Regions from separate parts of the Homo sapiens genome. Here all the other regions are linked to region 2. The links are contacts of gene promoters, found by promoter capture Hi-C in blood cells and fetal thymus (Javierre and others, 2016). All regions are on one chromosome and are shown on one strand. Each heading gives the region's core, a stretch centred on a gene start or on the middle of the fragment in contact. The rest is flanking DNA. Distances are from core to core; before and after follow the strand shown. Region 1 holds the start of SSH2-AS1 (SSH2 antisense RNA 1). Region 2 holds the start of SSH2 (slingshot protein phosphatase 2). Region 3 holds the start of GIT1 (GIT ArfGAP 1). Region 4 overlaps TP53I13 (tumor protein p53 inducible protein 13).

Region 1 (4,917 bases), core at 2,095-4,594, 290 kb after region 2:
GTGGAGCTTGCAGTGAGCTGAGATCATGCCACTGCACTCCAGCCTGGGTGACAGAGCGAGACTCCGTGTCAAAAAAAAAAAAAAAAGCGTATTCACATTTATCCTCTGGATCTAGGGAAGTGCCACATTTCCTGAACCCATGGGACAGTGAACACCCAAATCAAATCAGGCCTCTGACAGTAAGAAAAATGGCTGTTGGATATATAGCTGTTAGGGTCTGCAATCTATGATGTGTTATTAGGACACCTTGGTACTTGTAGGCTAACTGCCAAGTGAATAGGCCCAGCAGACTCGCCCAGCACCAAAGTACCACTCCAGATCTGCCTGCTTAGAAGAGCAAAGAAAAAAATCTCCAGACTCCTATGACTGTATGAAGCTCTATCAAGCCTTGCAATTTAGGTAAGCAGGAGAGGAAAATCCTTAGAAAAATCTCTCATTGTTTGCAGAGAAAGTCCATTTCCTGTCCAAGTGTTTAGATCTTGCATTTTATATTTTATCCCAAGAGGCCTGTGGTGGTTTTCTCAAAGAGGCAGAGCCCTGATCCTAGCATTCGGTAGCTCCATGGTTATCCAGGGTGGCCCTGGGTATTTAATTTGAGGTGGCAGCTCTCTGTTTGAGGGCATTCACTTAGTGCTTTGGCCTTAGTAGAAGAGAAGTTTTCAAAGTGACTCCAGGCTCCTGTACTGATTTGTGAATTGGTTACAGTCTTAATCAGAGTATGAGGGTATGGGCCAAGCCCCTCTGAAATACAAGGGACTTTTTGCACCTCCCAGTATATCATTAAGAGCCTGGAGAAGGCTAATGTTTAATATTTCCCTTTAGACCTAAAAAGAAGGGTATCATAAAGCTACTTATAGCATTTATATCTGATTTTATTTTTTCTGTTTTTATAGATGGGGGATGGGAGCAAAACAAGAGGCGGTGGGGGGGGTGGTGTCTGTGTGTGTGCCTGTGTTTTAAAACTCCATTAAACTGCCAGCAGCCCTGTTTGTTATTCTGCACTCTGATCATGCAGGTATCTGGCAGATTTATGTTCCATTAGAGAGGTTTAGATTTCAAGCAGACCATTTGCAAGTTGGACCGTGTGTCTGTGGTATTAGGTTTCAGTGTATAGGGGGCAAGGAAAAAAACCTGGGTGGTGACCAGGGAGAGTCTGTGCCATGTTTCCTCAGAAATGTCAGTTTTGATTCTTTGAGTGCCCCTGTCACAAGGGCCAGAGGAGGCAGGGTTGTCTTTTACCCTGGCTTTGCTGGTGGAGACACTGAGGTCTAGTTAGCTGATGCACATTGGTCAGCTGGCAGTAGGCAACCTGAGAAGGAAAGATGTGGACTCCTGGTCAGGTGACAGCCAAGAGCAATGGAGATTTAAAAGGATTTTCTTACTAGCTTTCCAGTTAAATAATCTTAAAGCATCTTGGGCGATGCACATCACACAAAAAAATATTCAGATAATGCTTTTTCTCTTCCTTTATACAGGCTGCCTAATACCCCAAAAAGTAACTATAGGCAGCCTGATTTTACTATAACTCCTGGCCCTCTTTTTTTAAAAAAAAAAAAAAAAAAGACAATGTCTATATTGCCCAGGCTAGTCTCACTCAACTCCTAGGCTCTAGGAGTGATCATCATGCTTTAGCCTCCTGAGTAGCTAGATTACAGGCGCAAGTACTCCATTTTTAGCAGCCTTTTCCTTTATATAACTTTCTCAGAGTTGATGTTTCACCAAACACGTAACAATATGAAAGTGGAGGCAAGATAATGGGACGACTTATGCATCTGTCATTTAAATTTCCTTCTTCTTGTGCTCACTTGGGCAGCACATACACTAAAATTGGAACTATACAGAGAAGATTGGCATGGCCCCTACACAAGGCTGACAACTTAAAAATATTTAAAAATAAAAATAAAATTTCCTCTTGTTCATTAACTAGGTAAAAGGCCAATTATTTCCCAGAATGACCTCATCACCTTATGTATGTCTGTGTCTTTATATGAATCCAAATTCAGGTCAGAGGCCACTCAAGGGGGAAAAGGATCTGAGACTTGGTTATATCATCCAGGATACAGACCAACTCTGAAGTTCCTTTTTGGCAAGCTGTTTATTTGCTGCCTGCCTGGAAGGGGGTGGGAGGTGGGGAGTCGGCCGAGTTTAAAATTTAATAGTTTAAAATAATAGATATGATCTAATACATTACATCTATTCCTACCAGTGATGAAGTGTTAGAATAAACTGTCTCAGGACAAAGCTTCATTGGAAAAAAACAGTTTAGTGTAACCGACTAAAACATGATGAGGCCAGGCGTGGTGGCTCATATCTGTAATGCCAACACTTTGGGAGGCCGAGGCGGGCAGATCACTTGAGGTCAGGAGTTTGAGACCAGCCTGGTCCAACATGGTGATACCCTGTGTCTACTAAAAATACAAAAATTAGCCAGGCATGGTGGCGCATGCCTATAATTCCAACTACTCTGGAGGCTGAGGCAGGAGAATTGCTTGAACCAACAGAAGGGAAATAAATTGTGGCATACTCATTACACTCTGTGGATTACCTTTATACACAGTGATGAATCTTTAAAAAAAAAATCCATTGGTGAAGAATATATACAGTGGGATACCATTTATATAAAGTTCAAGACATGCAAAACAAAGCAGTATTAGGAACAAAACATGTTGACACTATAAAGAAAAAAAAAGGGAATGATAAGCACAAAATTCAGGATGGAGGTTACCCTTGAGTAGGGAGGAGTGAGGAGGGGACCCCTGAGTGAGAAGTGACACGTGGAGTAGCAGTGTTTCACAGGCAATGGAGATGAATCAGCTGCTTGCCATTCTCCCTCCAGGTCCTATTGCAAAAATGAAAACAAGGCAGCAGCATCAGACCTATCTTTAGATTGTTTTTTTTTTCTCTCTCTTTTACAAGTGTCAGTTTAATTCCAGAGCCCTGGCCCAGTATTTTCTGATGATTTTCTCCCCAAGGAAGAGAAGGAAATCCCTGCTGGTTACACAGCTGCGATGTCAGACTTCCTCTGAAACATGCACTGTTGCTGCCTATTAGCATAACTTCAGTCTCTCATTCTCTCCTGACTGATTAGTGATCTGCAGGCAGTTTAAAAAACATACTTTGGAGGGGCCGGGCGTGGTGGCTCACGCCTATAATCCCAGCACTTTGGGAGGCTGAGGCAAGCGGATCACGAGGTCAGGAGATGGAGACCATCCTGGCTAACACGGTGAAACCCCGTCTCTACTAAAAATACAAAAATAGCCAGGCGTGGTGGCGGGTGCCTGTAGTCCCAGCTACTCAGGAGGCTGAGGCAGGAGAATGGCGTGAACCCGGGAAGTGGAGCTTGCAGTGAGCCGAGATCGCGCCACTGCACTCCAGCCTGGGTGACAGAGCGAGACTCCGTCTCAAAAAAAAAAAACAAAAAAAAAACATACTTTGGAGGATTCTTGGGATCATTAAACTTCTCATTTTGCCTGTTCTGTTATTAGAAGAGTGAAAACAGCCACCCCCTGAGAGGTCTTCCCAGTGATTTGCATCCCAGGCATTGTCCTACTATGGTGGGTGAGAGAAGCTGGTGCAGGTTTGAACATCCTCATGATAGGTGAGGGATAGAAATTGGGGAATACACTCATATTTATTTCAGGAAACAAGGATGTCTGCATATAAGAGAAGAAACTTTAAAAGGAAACCACTGGCCTCAGTTGGTCATAATGTACAACTTAGGCCCCACCTATCCAAACAGTCAGCTTGCCCCTCCCCACAGCCACTCACTTGAGATGCGTGATATGTTGTCTCCTCCTAGGGGTGGCTGGAGCTCATGCAGCTTGGAAAGGGTGAAAACCCCATCTTATACCCAGCTGATTGATTACAGCTTGTCTTCATAAAAAGATTGACCTGCTCCTTCCCAGGAAAGCACCCCTTTGCTGTGCAGGCATGAGTCAGAGAGAGCCCCACCCAAGCAGCAGACAGGCAGGGGGAGCTGAGAGCAGGTGCAGAGTTGAGAACAAACAGGGGGTCACATTAGTGCAGGCGCCTGAGCATGACTCGGCAGAGCCCAGGCGTGGCCCGGAGCCCAGGGCAAGTTGTTTTGGGCTGAGTTTCCCATTCCACCCTGCGGTTTGGTAACTCCTCATCAGCTTGTAAGTCATGGAGACCACACCCCCAAGGACCATACTTAGTGACCTGTTTCCTGGGCAGATGAACCTGACCAACAAAAGGGCCACCGTTCTCTTTTTGGCTGGGGTTTTGGGAACTGTTTAAGAGTGTGTGGTTTGAAATGAAATCTCCTCCCTACCTCAGACCTCTTTCATAAAATGGTGATGGAGGGGAGTCTTCCTTTGGCCCACCTGCTTTTTCCACGTGTCTCCTTAGCTTAATGATTTTTACCCAGAGATTCTTCTGAAAGGGCCTATCCTTTATGCTGTTCCCTTCATTCTGTTACTAAGCTTTCTCTCCAAATTTACTAGCCGTTCCTTTGCTTTCTGATTCCAGAATGCTTACCATCAGTTCTTCATCCTAGTTATGAGGACTTGGTAATAGGTTCCAACAGAGTATTCCCTTTGTGTTACTTGTATGTTTTGATTTTAGTAGGTTTTTTTCTGATTATAATTTTTAAACATGCCCATTTTTTAAATTCAAAAATTGTAAAAATATAGAGGCCAGGCTTGGTGGCTCACTCCAATAATCCCTGAGGCCAAGGCAGGAGGATCACTTGAACCCAGGAGTTCAAGACCAGCCTGGGCAACATAGTGAGACCCCCATCTCCACAAAAATAAAAAATAAAAAAATCAGCCAGGCGTGGTGGCAAACACCTGTAGTCCCAGCTACTACTAAAAGGAGGCTGAGGCAGGAGAATCACCTGAGCCCAGGAGGTTGAGGCTGCAGTGAGCTCTGATCGTTTCACTGCACTCCAGCCTGGTG
Region 2 (4,758 bases), core at 668-3,167:
CTTAATTGCATAGAGGGCTTTATTTACAGTTTATTCTGAACTTTACCATACATTATCTCAAGAATCTTGTCAGTTAGGGTTCCATTGTAGAGATAAAGGAATTAAAGCTCAAAAAGTTCAAGCCATTTGCATAAGGTTTTAGAGCTGGAACTAGAAACCAGGTCTTCTGATTCCTATGGTAGTGCTCTTTCTCACTGCAAGGTTAATGGACTTAAGCCTTTCATCTTCCAAAAGAATTTCTGAAGAGTATGTTACCATGAAAAAGTAGAACATCATTGTTGCCCTCCCTGAGTCAGAGAATCAACATACAAGTACTAAGACCTACAGATTTGAATATTACTTTTTCTAGAATGATACTTTGGTTCATAAAGCACATATATTTCATTTATTTGAGTTCATTCAGCTTCTAGCTATGTGTATTTTTTGGCTATGTATCTAGTTTCCTCTTTGGTCTCCCATGCATTGGTTCAAAGTTCTTACTTCTGAAACTTGCCTTCTCTTTTCCTGTTTACTACGGAGCTCTGGGGAAAACACAGTCAGATTGTTTAATCTGTGAACCATACATCTTTGTTTAATTTTGTCTCACAGGCACTCCTGATCACCACCAGGGGGCAAAAGCCTACCAGCTGGCTTCTCTGCACTACACTCTACATAGGACTGTACAGTACAGGGACCCTCAGTGTCTGATTCTTGATGGAACCTCCCTGCTAATTATTTCAACCACAGGGCCCCAGGGAGAGAACAAAGGCTCAGCACAGAGGACTCTTGTGGCGTTTAACCGTACAGCAGCCAGAAAGAGCTCATGACAGCCCTGTCAGTTTAAAAGAAGCAATGAGATCCAAGAGTGTTTGAGTGACAAACAGGAGGGGGTGGGTTTTAATAACTGCAAACTCCCAAGTGTGTGTGTTTTCTACAGCTTTGATATGTACGGTGGTATTTACCAGCTCATCCACTCAAGCTGAGAAATAGCCTTGTCAACTCTCTTTCTTTGTGTAAATAATCAGTGATATTTGCATTGTGCAATTTTTTTCCTTTTTAATCTTGATTTTCCATTACATTCTTTGCTTATGTTCTGCAGACAATTTACCCCTGAGAAAACCATTCCCTTAAAATATCTTTTAATCTACATTTTTACATAGGTCTATGAAAGAATGACATTTAGAGACGAAGGAGAAGAAAGCTTAACGAGCAAATCCTGTTTAATTAAAAGACTGTCTTCACAGCAGGAGGCAAGTGAGAGGTCAATAGCAGGCTGGACCCTCACAACCGGCTTCCTCGGACTCCCAGGCGCGCTCAGCTTCTCTTCTCCTCAGGAATAATGAATAAGTCTTTAGACAGGCAATAGAGGAAGCATGAGGGTACCACAAACCTTTCCAGGGTATCAAACGGAAAATGGTTTTCTTTCCAGAAGTCTCATCATAAAACATAGACGGAAGGGGGGGAAAAGTTAAGAAAAAGCCCCCGAGAGCCGGGGTGAAGGGAGTAAACTGGTCTAGCCCAGTTCTGTCTGCGCCCAGTGAGAGGGTTTGAAACTCCGCGGAGCCCTTTCCCAATAGAAAACGTGTTTGCTTCAGGATTTTCATCTCAGCTGCTTTTTTTTAAGGTTGGTTAAGCTGTGCGCCGCCCCACCTCATAAAATGGTTGTCTCTCAGGAGTGAAGACTCCAGCGGCCCCCCGCCCTGGGACCCCTCACCGGGCTGGCTCCCTTCGGCCCCTTCCCCCACCCCACTCCACAGCACCCAGTGCTGGCAAACCGCGCGATTCCAGCACGAAGGAGGAAACCCAGGAGGGTGCGGCGGCCCGAGGCGCACGCACTCGGCCAGCTTCCGGCAACTCAAGGGTTACGACCAGGCGGCGGCGCGCGCCGAGGGGAGAGGCGGTAGCTGACAGGTGGCGCCTGCGCACTGGGAGCGCTCATTGTGCCCCGCAGCTGCGGAACCGCCCGCCCGCCGCCCGTTCGGAGCGTCAGTCGGCGACAGTCTGGTGGTGGGTGCGGAGTCTGCGGCCGTTCCCGCGGCCTCCTCCTCCTCCCCGTTCCCTTCACCCCCACCCCGCACCCCTTTCCCCATCCCGGCTCCGTCACCCTCCCGTCCCCCACACTCAGGACAAGAATGCCCTGCCCGGAACAACCCAGCAGCGCCTAGATGGCTTTGGTCACGGTCCAGCGGTCACCTACCCCCAGCACCACCTCCAGCCCCTGCGCCTCGGTGAGTCCTTCCTGGCGGCCGCTCCGCTTGCTTCTGTCACTGCGGCTCCGCTTTGCCTCAGCGGGTCCCGCCGAACGCCACTGCGCACGCGCCGCGCCGCTTCCCAGGCCTTGGCACTCGGCTGCCGCGAACCCCCCCACACCCCCATGTTAAAGACTAGCAGCAGGAACTACAAGACGTTGATTTTTGCCCCCATCACCCTGAGCACCTAGCTCCTCACAATCCTCGCCCTGAAATCCCCTGTGGCATGCCTCCCTATGGCTTGAGCACTTCCTTTTGGTAATGAGTCATTCTTGCTTTTCACCCTCCCCCTTCTTTTACCCTCTGTTGCTCTGCTGCAGGGAGGGGACCGTGAGCCTCCTGCGTTGCCCCTTACCCACACCCACATCTCTTACCCACACCATTTCATAGACCTGTTCAGTATTTGCACACTGCACACCCTTCTTCGTACTCGCCAGGGTGTGTGCCTTCCCCTAGTCACTTGCTGGCTTTCTTTTGCTCTGTACTGTTCAGGCTTTGAACTGCCCAACCGTAGTTATTCCTTGGTTTCTCCCGCCTGCCCCCCACCCCAGAGGGTAGCAATGATCTCTGTTTCCTGGACCTCTTACCTTTCCTTTATGAGGTCCCGAAGCATCTGGTGCTGCTTAGTGATCAGTGTCAAATTATTTCCGTCTTACAGATATTTATGCCTTACACTCATTGCTCGTGATCATTCTTGTTCTAAGGTCGTGTTTGTATGGCTCGTTACCTCAGATGCCTATGCCAATAAAGCATGCTCTCAGAAGGAAAATACCCAGTAACCAGCCTTTCCCCGCTGGGCCCGTCTTTGCCTTCTCTCCTCGCCCCACCCCCATTCGTTTACACTCCATTCTCTTAGGCTCCATTTTTGAAAATATTTATTTTTAAAAACAATATATTGCACCAGTGGGGCAAATGGGCTTTAAAAAACCAACATCCAGATGTTTTAGAGAGAAATAAACTGAGTGAAAATGCGAGCAACTGGGAAAACCACCTTGAACTTCCTACAGAACTGTAATTTTAAAAACGGTGTTGGTGGATTTGGTAGTATCAGGTTGCAAAAAAAGGTATTTAATAAACACTGTACCACTTTCCACTGTAAAAAAATCATCAGGTTACCCTTAATATTTGTATGTTAACTGAGGTGTGAGCTTTGATATCCTGAAATTTGCTGGCTTGTCATTTCAGTATAATTTCCTGAATTTCAAAGTTTTGTTGTGTATGGTTGTGGTTTCTTCTTTTCTGAGCTTTAATTGCATTTTGTGTGATGAAATTGACAACTATATCTTAATAAGTGATTTTATTTCAAAGGTTATATATCTTGTGTTGTTTCAGAGAGCAGAACTGGGATTCTTGGTTCAGGGAGGCAGATTTCCAGTGATTGTAAGGAAGAATTTGTAACAGTGGAGTGCACTGCCTTGCAAAATAGTGAGTGCACATTGCTGGAAATATTCAAGCAAAGGCTGGAGAACATTTTGCCTGGGAGGTGGTATAAAGAATTCCTGCAGTGGGGGACTTCTAAGACTATTTCTAATCTAAGATTTTGTGATTTGAGAATACTTGTACTTCAAAGCTGGTAAAACATTTTAGGGTCATCTGAAGACAAGTATCATAGGAATAAATCTTTAATATAATTTATTCTTATGTGTAGTACTTTATGCTAGTTTTTGGAAAGTCATTAACATACCATCAAACCTTCTTAATTCACTCCACTAGTAAACTCTTTGGTTTGTGGTTACTAGGCCTGATTTTGAAGAAATCGATTGAAAGTTAGTAGAGTCATGCAAATAAACTAGAAATCAGTACTATAGTAACATTTATTTTCCTTGGGCACTGTTGAAAATAGCTTATGCTATGATAATATATGTATATCAAGTTGTCATCATACTAATTTACTTGAAGTGAATGATTAGTATACAGTAAGACCGTGTACACTTGATATGACTTCATTAGCCAAAACTTGAGTTACTTTAGAATCTTGAGGTATGTTAATAGTCACTTTTGACATAGGTAATTAAATTGATCATGTAATAAGCTCAGTTGTTGAGCAAAATCACTAATATTTCTATATCTACTAGCCTGGTTATTTCAGTTGTTTATACTTGGCCCTGAATGCAAAGGAATCCTAAGGCTGGTGTAACAATCAGCATCATTAGTATAACTGATAAGCCAGCTTCCTTTCTCTTTAAATTGTCTTCCTATTGGACTTCATCCAGAATTGTGTTCAGCTGAGTTGTTTCGAGGTCCTTGTACTCTAGCATTTGGCTGCTGTCTGACCTCCATATATTTTGCTGTTCTATCTCTTGCTGTATGAATAGGTTGGGTTGTTTGTTTTAAAATAGAGAGCAAAAAGAACCTAGAGGACCATGAAAGAAGAGATTTAATTTTGTGAGACTGGAAATTTACATTTTTTTATTAATCACTTTAAGTACGCTGTTAATACTTTTACACTATAGGATGCAGGGCATTTTAATACTGCCAGCTCTTTAGTGTTGTTTCATTAGGCATTAAACAATATGCTAGGTGTGAGTGA
Region 3 (4,737 bases), core at 1,721-4,220, 340 kb after region 2:
AACGCGGGAAAGATGGTCCCTTTCCCCCCGCACACTGTCCCCAGCAAGAACCAGAGTGAGGTTGGACAGAAAAAGCAGCAGGTGGCAGCTCCGTTCCTCCACCCAGCTGGCCCTTCAGGAAGGGAAGTGACTGATTCCAGAGACTGTCTCCTTCCTGAATGACCCCAGGGTGAAGAGGTACTTCCAGAATGGTCCCTGCAGAGGGTGTGGTAAAAGTTGAATTGGCCTCTCAAGCGCCAATTGCAAGGCCTGGAAGGACCAAGAGGCTTGGACCAGTCCCTGGAGGGAGGGGACTGTGATGTCAGAGAGACCAGAGTTCGAATAGCTCCAACTGCCTGACCTTAAAAGAGCAAACTGCTTAATTTTTCCGACTTTCTCGGTCCACTCCCCTTCAAAATGAGAATCTAGATACTACCTCCTGGGGTGAGCTAAGGATAATGACTGCCCTGGAAACAGCGCCTCCCTCCCCCAACCAGGCGGGCCGAGACAGGTGGCGGGACCAGGCACGGTGCCTTCTTGAGCCCACCTCAGAACAAGGCAGGAATAAGGGATTCCACACCGGCCCTACTTAAAACAACAATCCAAGAAGTGTTTGTGTGGGAGGTGCCAGCAAAAGCTTGCAAACTCTCTCAGGTTTCTTTGTGTGGTCTTCCCTCCTTCCTCCTCCACACCCTGTGGTGCCAGGCCCCAGCGGGAAGAGATGAGGGAGGAGCGGGCTGCCTCGCCCCTTTCTCCCGCCTGGGAGGAGCCAGCTGGCGTCTCCGGGGGCCCGGGACCGCTGCCCGCCTGCACCACCAGGGGTCAGCAGAGTGTCGTGGCTGCAGCCAGTGCAGGGGAGGGGGCTGGCGCGGTTGAGGGGCATCTAGGAGTGGCCGGGAGCATGCCTGTGCATTTCCTTATTAAATTGTTTTTCGAACCTTGTGTGTGATTCCACTGTAGCAGTCCTGCTTCCTGGGGTGGTGACATCTCCACGGGGGAATCCAGAAACCCTTTTATCTCCAGTCCCAGGCCCAGAAGTTTGGCTGTGACGGGGCTGGGGGAAACAAAGTTTGGACGATGTGTCCGCGCCAGGGCCACTCCCAGGTAGTCTCTGAGCCAACCAGGAGATGGGGAGTGGGGTGGAGGGGTAAGCAGAGTGAATCATCCTTCTTCCCCAGCAAAGCCCAGGAGTCCGAGGACAGGGGGAGTTCAGGATGGATTGTGGGGAGTTGTCGATTGTGGGGAACTGTCCCCTGGGCGGCCGTGTTCTTTTTTTGCCAGGCGGCGGTAGACACTGAACCCAGGTCGCTTGCGCTTCGGCCCGCGCTCTCAGCTGCCACGTGCTCGAGACGCGCCCACACAGCGGAGAAACAAAGACAGCCAAGCGGCAGGGCTGCCAGCAGCCTCCTCGACATTTAATAAATGAAATTCCATAGCTGGGGGTCGATCGGGGGTGAACGGGCGGCCACCGCTCGTGGACTGAGCGCCTGGCACGGGCTGCCTGGCCACTCCTCCCGTCTCACTCCCCCCGCCCCTTACCCCCTTCCCGCTGAGGCCACCAAGCCCATGGACTCTGGTGAGAGAGCAGCTCGGGGCGGCAGGTGGTGCTCCCCCCTACACACCAGCTAGGTATCGTTGCTTGCAAAAGCCCCACCAGCTGAGCGGCTGGCTGTCGAGGGAGGGGAGGCCTGCAAGATTTTTTTAAGGTGCAATTATAAATAAAGCCCATGGATCGCGATTTCAAACAAACTTGTCAATCTGGGCCGCAGCAAAAGGCGATGGAGGCAGCTTTGCATGTATTTCGGGTGGTGTGACTCATGAGCATTACTTGTCTCCCCTAGGGAAGGAGCCTGCCCACCCACAAATCACTGCCGCTCTGGCACCGTTGGGATAATCGACCAACTTGAGCACCCCTGCCAAAGGACTGCCCCCATCTTAACAAGCAGGAGTCTCTGACTCTTGGAGAACCCCTCCTCAATTGTCACCACTGACCTGGCCCCCAGGTCTGGCCCTGGGGACCTCTACCCTCTCCCCACAAGCAGAGTGCCCGGGCCTTTTGCTGCTGCAGGGATTGGGGGTTGGGTACACGCGCGGCACACGCGTATGGGGGCGCATGCTCAGTGCGGGGGCTGCGCTCATGTGCGGCCTCTACCTAGGCTCCCTGCCCCCCAGCCCACCCACGTCCCTCACCTGCCTTGCCTTTGCCTGCCTCGTCGTGTGAAGTCCAGGAAGAAAGGCCGTCACCTGAAACGGCCCCTCTATGTTATATGCACCCTTTCTGGACACACACACCTCTGGTGGCCCAGAAACACCGTGGGTGTGTGTAAGGCGGATGACAAGTGGATGTGAGTGCACACAGGCACAGTGGTCACTCCTCGGGAGGTCTTTAAAAACCGCCCAGATTCTCTCCTCTCTGGATGGAAGGATGCATGGAGAGATAGATATATTTTTAGTCCGGAGGCAGGGGAATACACTGCCTGACCTTTCTGGCACCTGGGCGTCCATATTGTTAGCAGTGGGCGTATTCAGCAAGAGTGTGACACATACACACACACCCCTGGACACACAGATGTGGACACCTACGGGACAGGGACGCACACCTCACCCCAACCAGAGATAGACGGGTACCCCAAGGCACAGCCCCTTTGACCTGGAGCGGGACTTGGGCCTCCAAGTCCTTCTTCCCTAATCCCCACCCTCGCCGTCCGTGGGCCCAGCGTCCCCCGGTCCACCCCACGCGGAAAGTGAAGGGGAGGGGGCTGTGAGGGTGACTCACATTGCCTCCGGGCCAGGCGAGCGCTGCAGCGGAGGCCAGGGCCGCAGGCCACGCTGCCCGCCGGGGCCGGGCATCTGCCGCGGCCCCTTTAAGCGCCCCCGCCCCCTCCTGCCCGCGCCCGGGCTTCCTTTCTCTAGGGGGCGCGGCCGGCAGCGCGCGGCGGGGCGGGGGTGCGGCCCCTCCCCCTGTGGGCAGGGCCTGCGCCGCTTCCTGCAGAAGCGGCCGGGAGCCGCGCAGGGGGCGGAGAGAGGAGCCGCGAGCGGCGGCGGGGCGGCGCGGGGCGGAGGGCGCCCGAGGGCGAGCGGGCAGGCGGGCACGGCGGGTTCCGGGCCAGCCCCGGGGCGGACGGTTGGCCGGGCGCGCGGAGCCTCGCCGGGGCCTCGCCGGAGCCGGGCCGGGCAGCAGGGGCCGCCGCCGCCGCCCGGGCCCGCCGCCCGCGCCCCCCACGCTGGCCCAGAGGGCTGCGGCCGCGTCGCCGCTGAGGATGTCCCGAAAGGGGCCGCGAGCGGAGGTGTGTGCGGACTGCAGCGCCCCGGGTAAGCGCGGCGGGGCCGGGGGCGGGACCGCACAGCCAGGCCGCCGCCGGGCGGGCGCCGGGGCCTGGCAAGAGCGCTGTGCGGGGCCGGAGGGCTGGGCGGGGCGGGGGGCTGCGGCCTCCAGGCTGGGCCCCCGCCTCGGCCACTGCGGAGCTGCGCCCTTGGCGGGAGGGCCGGCCTGGGGTGCCCATGCTCCCTGGAGGCCGTGGACTAGCGAGGAAGGACGTTCCCGGCGCCGCCTCCCGCTCCTCGGTCTGAGGGAGGCGGGCAGCTGGCTGCTCCTCCACCTCCATCTCTGTATCCGACGGAAGCGCCAGCCTGGGGTGGCAGGAGGGCCGTGGCGGAGGCCGTCAGGGCTTGGGAGGTGGGGGCGAGTGTGGTTTTATGTCATCTCAGTGCCACCCCCGCGTCTTGCACCTGCTGCTCGCGTGGTCGGTACGCCTGCCGGGGTGGTGGAGGGCAAGGAGCAGAGGGCCGGGCAGATGCGCCAGTGGGGCCTGAATACCGTCTCCTCAGGAGCAGATGAGCGGTGGCTACTCCCAGGACTCCCTGCCTCGGGTTCCTAAGGCTAGCGCTCCTTGCCGGGCCTGGCGTTCAGGGCCAGTCTAGACCCGGGTGTCTTCTCGGGAGGCATCCCCAGGCCTGCTGGTGGTGACTGGGAACAGCTCGGCTGGACCCTGCTGTTCCTGTTCACCGGTAAGGCCTGCTTGGGAAAGTGAGCTTGGCATCAAGCTATCCTGGGTGCGGGCCCCTCCCTGTCCCCTAGCCCAGTCTGGCCAGAAATGGGTGGGAGGCCGTGCCGAGATTCCCCGTATCCTGCTGGCTTCCTGGCCTGTCTCCTGGCTGTATTTACATGGTGGTTCCCTTCCTTTTCCTAACAGAGTTAGGACTGGGCTGGAGTGAAACCCCCCAGGCCTGCTGAGGAAGTCAGGGGTAATGATCCAAGAGGCTGCTCCCTTCTGATGAGGGAGGACAGCCAGTGACGGGGCTCTGCAGCTGGCCTGGGAAGGAAGCTCTAGCCCACATCCATTCTTTCTTTAGCAAAGGAGCTATCTCCCTGGTAGGCCCCTGGGCAGGCTGCGGAGGTCCGTGAACTCTAGCGGGGCTGTGGGCATGATTAAGAGTGAGAGTATGGGGTGCTGGTTTGTGGGCCCATAACTTTCAGCCACCCCTTGAGCAGGCCCAGGACCCCACCGGTTGAGCCTCACAGATGCTCTGGTGGTTCTGGGGGTGCCAAGCTAGAGTATTTGGGAACTATGACTTAGCAGGGCTTGGGCACAAAATACTCCATAGGTGGTTATGACCAAGGCCTCCTAGGGGCTTATCATGGTTTAGAGGGCCCTGGGGTTGAGGGTCCATACCCCTAAGAAACTGTGACTCCGTTCCCCGAGCTGCAGGCAGGTCTGGGGATGGCAGGGCTGAGGATGCACCTTGCCTTATAAATGT
Region 4 (5,024 bases), core at 584-3,083, 360 kb after region 2:
AGGCGTGGAGAATCCCATCTGATCGCTACCTGGGTGGAGACACAGACAAACTGGGCCCTGATCTCAGCTGGTGGCTTAAAGTCCAAGGTCCAGCCTCACTCCTGCCCCCTCCAGAGGCCAGCCCTGGAGCCAGTGCGGAGCTCACTGCGGCTGCTCAACGCCAGCGCCTACCGGCTGCAGAGTGAGTGCCGGAAGACAGTGCCCCCAGAGCCCGGCGCCCCAGTGGACTTCCAGCTGCTGACTCAGCAGGTGATCCAGTGCGCCTATGACATCGCCAAGGCTGCCAAGCAGCTGGTCACCATCACCACCCGAGAGAAGAAGCAGTGACCTCTCTCCCCACACCCTCACCTGCACCCTAGGACCTCACTGGCCATAGGAGCTGGGCCACTCCAGACATTAATCCCCACCCCAACAGAGCCACTGGCACAAGTGCCCTTAGTGCTGCCACACTCCCTGGCAGCCAGGTGCCCTGGTGCCCACCCCTGTCGAGCCCCTAAGGATGGGGAGGTGGGGGGGCAGGAGCTTCTGTCCCCCACATTCCATGCACCTCCCCTCTGTATATAGCATCTCCCCCCTCCTAGTGAGCAGGGGCCTGCAAGGCATCACTCCCAGCCCCTCGCCTTCTAGGGCACCCTCAGCAAAGGGGCAGGTGGGGACACTCCAAGTGGGGCAGCTCTCCGTACATGCGCCCCACCCCCATGAGCCAGTTCAGCCCTACTGGGGGCTGAGCGGGGGCATCCCCTCCTTTGTACATAGTCTCCATGGATGTCCCTGCCCTGTAGCCACCAGCCCCTTGCTGCTCTCCCTTTAATGCCATATGGCCCCTGCCTAGGGCACAGGCCCCAACCTGTGTGCTGGGGTCCCCAGCAGCAAACACTGGAAAGTCTGTTTTTTTTTTTTCTTTCTTCTTCCCCACCCCTTAATTTTAACTTTGTGGTAACTGAGTGCCCCCGCGTGCCTGCGTGTTGAGTGTGTGGGCGGCAGTGCCGTTCCGGAGGCCTGGTCCATCTGGAGTTTTGAGGGGTGAGGGGACCAGAGCAGTGGGACCAGCATGGGGATCAGCTTCCCTTCCCCACCTGGAGCCAGGGACTGTCCGGGTAGCCAGTTTTGGTCCTGCCAGCTGCCTCCCTGATCCCTCCCCACTCTCGCCCCTTCTCTATGAACTTAAATCAAAAACCACTTCCCTCCATCTCCTCCTGCTCCTGCGTGGAGGGGGAATGTGTGCTGGCTAGGGTGGAGGACTGAGCACCTGAGCCTGGGGCTGGCTCCCCGGGGTCCCCGACTCAGCTGGTGGCTGTGGAGCTGAGTCCCCTCCCCGTAACCTCTGCAAGGCCAGCACCCACCATCACTACCTGCACCTGCTGTGGTCCCACCCTCTGGAGGCCTGGGAACCTGGCTGCAGCCTGGGAAGGCTGGAGAGGCAGACGGTGGGACCCACCAGCTCTCTCCCCATCCCGCTTCTTCCCTGGGGGCCAGGCCCTACCTGTGTGGTGGTGGGTGGGCTGTCAAGACGTGTCATGTACATTTGTATCAAAAATAAAGAAGTGACCATGAGCTGTTTCTGATGCTTAGAGAATGGGGGCTGGAGGGAGGTGGCAGACATGAAGGGTGACTGCAAGTGCCCCAGGACCCCCGCCCTAGGGAAGCCCCTGTGCTGGGAACGTCTGTCTAGTGGAAGAGTTAGTTTGCGAATAACAAAGCTAACATGTATGACGATAACGCCACCCTCCCACGAGCACATTCCTAAAGCCCCATGTCCAGGGACAGGTTGGCCAGCGGGGGCGGGCTGCCTCAAACACCACCTCCATGGCCTAGGACGAGGGTCCGGGTGGGAGTCTCTGTGCGGCAGATGCACAAGCTCAACTCCAGAGTCTACTAAAAATAATTTAATTAGAAACGGAGTTTTGGCAAGGGAGGCAGAAGCGGCTCCTTTTCTCCCCTTGGCCGCCCACTCAGCAACCAACAAGGAGGAAAGCCCCCGCAGTGCTCGGCCAGTGCCGCGCCATCGCCACCAGGGAGCGCCCCGCGCGCGGTCCACGTGGCAGAGGTCGCGGCCTCGCGGCGCGGGGAGGAGCCGCACGCCACAGTGGCAGGTCCCAGGCCGTCACTCCGAGCTCTCGCCTTCCGGGCCGCTGTCCGGCGTGGGCGGGAGGAGGGGTCTCCGGCGCGAGCGCTTGACCCGGCGCGAGGGCTGCAGCAGCCTCCGCTTCAGCACAGCTGTGGGCCGGGCGCCGAGCAGTCAAGGGCGGGAGGGCAGGGAAGCTACGGGGGGCGGCGGGCGACGCGAGGTGGGGCGGGGGCCTCGGGTAGGGTAGGGAGGGAACTCCTCACCAGCCACTGTGTCCTGGCTGTCCGCTGTGGGCCCCCAGTAGATGCTCTCCCCGCGTCGGAAGTTTCTGTGCAGCCGTGTGCAGAGCGTGGCCAGGGTGAGCAGCACCAGCAGGAAGGTCAGGGCCATGGCAGCCCAGGCGGCCTCTTCAGTGCGTGGGGTGGGGCCCCGGGCTGCCCGTGGAGGCGCTGCTGCGCGAGGGGCCGGGGAAGCCTGACTTGAACAGACACAGCCCCCTGGGCTGCCTTGCCCGTTGGGCACCTGAGCCTCTGTCCTGGAGCTGGCATTGCCTCCAGGCGCCCCCGGCAGCAGGGAGACAGTGGGCACAGATGGGGCATTACTCTCCCTACCAGGGATTCCCGCCATGGACTGCTTGGCCTTCAAGCTCCCTGGGGAAGCAGAGGGAAACCTCAGGGCTGAGCGAGTGGGCTGGGGACCAAGGGCAGCCCGCAGCCTCCGCCTCTTGGCACCACTAGAAGAGGGCTGCCTGGGCCCTTGAGATGTCACCTCTGTGCCAGGGGGCCGCCAGCTCCGCAGAGCAAAGGCCAGAGCCAGGGCCTAAGGAGAGGAGAGAGAGCAATCACCCTGCTGCCCCTCTCAGAGAACCCGAGGGCCAACAAGCCTGGGCCCAGCGTCTCTCACCTGCACACACCCTCTTCGGCACAGCCTCCCTCTACCGGGAGTTGGCTCGGAGGGAGCAGGCCCTGAAAGGCTTTCACAGTAGATCCATGCCTTCTTCTTCCTCTGCTTCCTCCTCCGCCTCCTCATCAGCCAGTGGGCAGCCCAGGCTGGCTCTACCCAGGCCATCTCCAGCGCCAGCCCCCATGCAGTCAGCACCAGGGGCTACGAGAGGAGGTAACTGTTAGAGCTACGAGGAAGGTGGGGACAAACAAGAGGAAACCCTTGAATTTTCCATTCCCTGCACACGGGGCCATAGCCTTCTGCCAGGGCCAGGCAAGCGCCTTTCATCAGCTACATACCCGATCCTGCGTGAGGCTGAAGTCAGGGGTGAGGGAAGGGTTAGCCATACAAGCATAGGCCAGGAGGGCAAGCTGGAGCTTCAGCCAGGGATGGGCACAGGGGTGGTAGAGGAAGGTGACATCCTCAGCCTGGAGGAAAGGCACAGAGACATCAAAGCAGGCCCAGAGCCCTCCCAGAGAATCTCAAGTTCTCCCATCCAGGGGACCAGTTTAAAGGTACTCCCAGGATAGCTGGATGGCTCTTCTACCTTCAGGGCCCAGGAAAGGACAAAGGGCCCTGGGTATTGGCATGTACCCACTCTTGCCTCTGAGTGTTCCTTTCACCCTTCCTCTCCATCAAGTGCCACCCTTCAAAGCTCACAGCATGCCTGGATAATCCTGCCAGACTCAGACCACACTCTAGCCATATTTCCCTGCAGGTGTAACGATGGCTCTACAGGTCCACAATCCAAGCCATAAGCAACCCCCAAATGAAGACCATCGATCCAATCTATACAGTCTCCCAAGAGCATCCAAATACAGGGCAGGCAGGCAGCAGGTGCACAATCTCAGGATGGAAATACTCCATCAATCATTCATTATTCTTTGATTGAGTTGACTTGGTGCTCAGTGCTGTGCTAGATGCTGTGGGAGATGCCAAAGAACTCCTGGACTCTGCTTGCAAGGAGTGTGTGAGAAACTCAGGGAAACAACTAATGCAAATAAAACAGCAAACTAATAAAACTTAGTGATTAGTTGTTAAATTATCAGAGATAGATTCAGAGGAGGAGGGGAGGAATAAAGGCTGATGCCATCGGGCAGTGTCTCAGGGGGAGCTGATGCCAGCTGGGACTGGGAAGATGGCTGGGGGAGTATGGCAGGAGGGCAGGGAGCTGCACTCTCCGAGTCAGGATAGGCCAGGTGTGGAGGAGAATAAACAGGAGCAAAGGGGCTGTGGTAAGGGCGAGGCTGGCACTCATTTGTGTGGCAAACAGCCCGACACAACTGGAGAGGAACCAAGGATGTGGAGAGGTCAGACGAAGCTTACTTAAGTAAGGCCTGAAAAGCCAGGCCGGAGAATATGGCCACGATAAGGTGGGAAATAAGGAGCCATTGACAGTTTGTGAACAGAGGAATGACTTCATGAAAGGGCTGTTTGAGGAAAGGAATCTGATAGGTGGCGTGAGGCAACAACTCTTGGCCTGGAGCTATTACAGAGAATTTTTTTTTTTTTTTGAGACAGTCTCGCTCTGTCGCCAGGCTGGAGTGCAGTGGCATGGTCTCGGCTCACTGCAACCTCTGCCTCCTGGGCTCAAGCAATTCTCCTGCCTCAGCCTCCCAAGTAGCTGGGATTACAGGGGTGTGCCACCACGCCCAGCTAATTTTTGTATTTTTAGTAGAGACAGGGTTTCACCATGTTGGCCAAGCTGGTCTTGAACTCCTGACCTCAGGTGTTCCACCCGCCTCAGCCTCCTAAAGTACTGGGATTACAGGTGTGAGCCACCATGCCTGGCCAATTTAAGTTAGGTATTTCAGGCCAGGCATGGTGGCTCACACCTGTAATCCCAGCACTTGGGAGGCTGAGGCAGGCAGATCACTTGAGGTCAGGAGCTCAAGACCAGCGTGGGCAACATGGTGAAACCTCGTCTCTACTAAAAATACAAAATTAGCTAAGCTAGGTGGCACACGCCTGTAATCCCAGCTGCTCGGGAGGCTGTGGCATAAGAATTGCTTGA

Evidence for each region. Contacts are between HindIII fragments. The CHiCAGO score rates a contact against its expected background, and 5 or more counts as called.
Region 1: a fragment that was not itself captured here is called in contact with the fragment with the promoter of SSH2 in region 2 in 15 of 17 cell types (megakaryocytes, M2 macrophages, M0 macrophages and 12 more); the score reaches 20.1 in megakaryocytes.
Region 3: the fragment with the promoter of GIT1 here is called in contact with the fragment with the promoter of SSH2 in region 2 in 10 of 17 cell types (naive CD4 T cells, naive CD8 T cells, fetal thymus and 7 more); the score reaches 11.1 in naive CD4 T cells.
Region 4: a contact is called between a fragment that was not itself captured here and the fragment with the promoter of SSH2 in region 2, in 1 of 17 cell types (fetal thymus). The highest score is 6.2, in fetal thymus.

Annotation. Positions count from the first base shown.
Region 1 is chr17:29,638,583-29,643,499 of GRCh38, reverse strand. The region is part of intron 14 of SSH2 (slingshot protein phosphatase 2); the gene reads left to right. SSH2-AS1 (SSH2 antisense RNA 1) reads right to left here and starts at 3,999. Exons shown (of 2, transcript XR_001752823.2): 1 at 3,769-3,999; 2 at 2,599-2,839. It also overlaps the pseudogene RNU6-920P. RefSeq lists enhancers at 1-89, 3,655-3,949, 3,821-4,130. The HindIII fragment of the contact is 2,200 bases long and covers 2,245-4,444 here.
Region 2 is chr17:29,927,387-29,932,144 of GRCh38, reverse strand. It overlaps SSH2 (slingshot protein phosphatase 2), which reads left to right and starts at 1,917. Exons shown (of 16, transcript NM_001282129.2): 1 at 1,917-2,207. The coding sequence starts at 2,145. It also overlaps a transcript of EFCAB5 not described here. RefSeq lists silencers at 735-904, 1,638-1,727, 1,878-2,157, 2,668-2,717. The HindIII fragment of the contact is 8,919 bases long and covers 1,183-4,758 here.
Region 3 is chr17:29,587,881-29,592,617 of GRCh38, reverse strand. GIT1 (GIT ArfGAP 1) reads left to right here and starts at 2,970. Exons shown (of 20, transcript NM_014030.4): 1 at 2,970-3,291. The coding sequence starts at 3,240. RefSeq lists silencers at 692-881, 2,642-3,121, 3,382-3,571 and enhancers at 1,990-2,889, 3,789-4,688. The HindIII fragment of the contact is 9,256 bases long and covers 619-4,737 here.
Region 4 is chr17:29,570,005-29,575,028 of GRCh38, reverse strand. It overlaps TP53I13 (tumor protein p53 inducible protein 13), which reads right to left. Exons shown (of 7, transcript NM_138349.4): 4 at 3,310-3,438; 5 at 2,972-3,172; 6 at 2,332-2,887; 7 at 1,872-2,217. The coding sequence ends at 2,105. GIT1 (GIT ArfGAP 1) reads left to right here. Exons shown (of 20, transcript NM_014030.4): 20 at 115-1,554. The coding sequence ends at 327. Among named protein-coding and RNA genes, the nearest start is that of TP53I13, 3.8 kb to the right of the region's middle. RefSeq lists a silencer at 2,069-2,138. The HindIII fragment of the contact is 5,000 bases long and covers 1-4,333 here.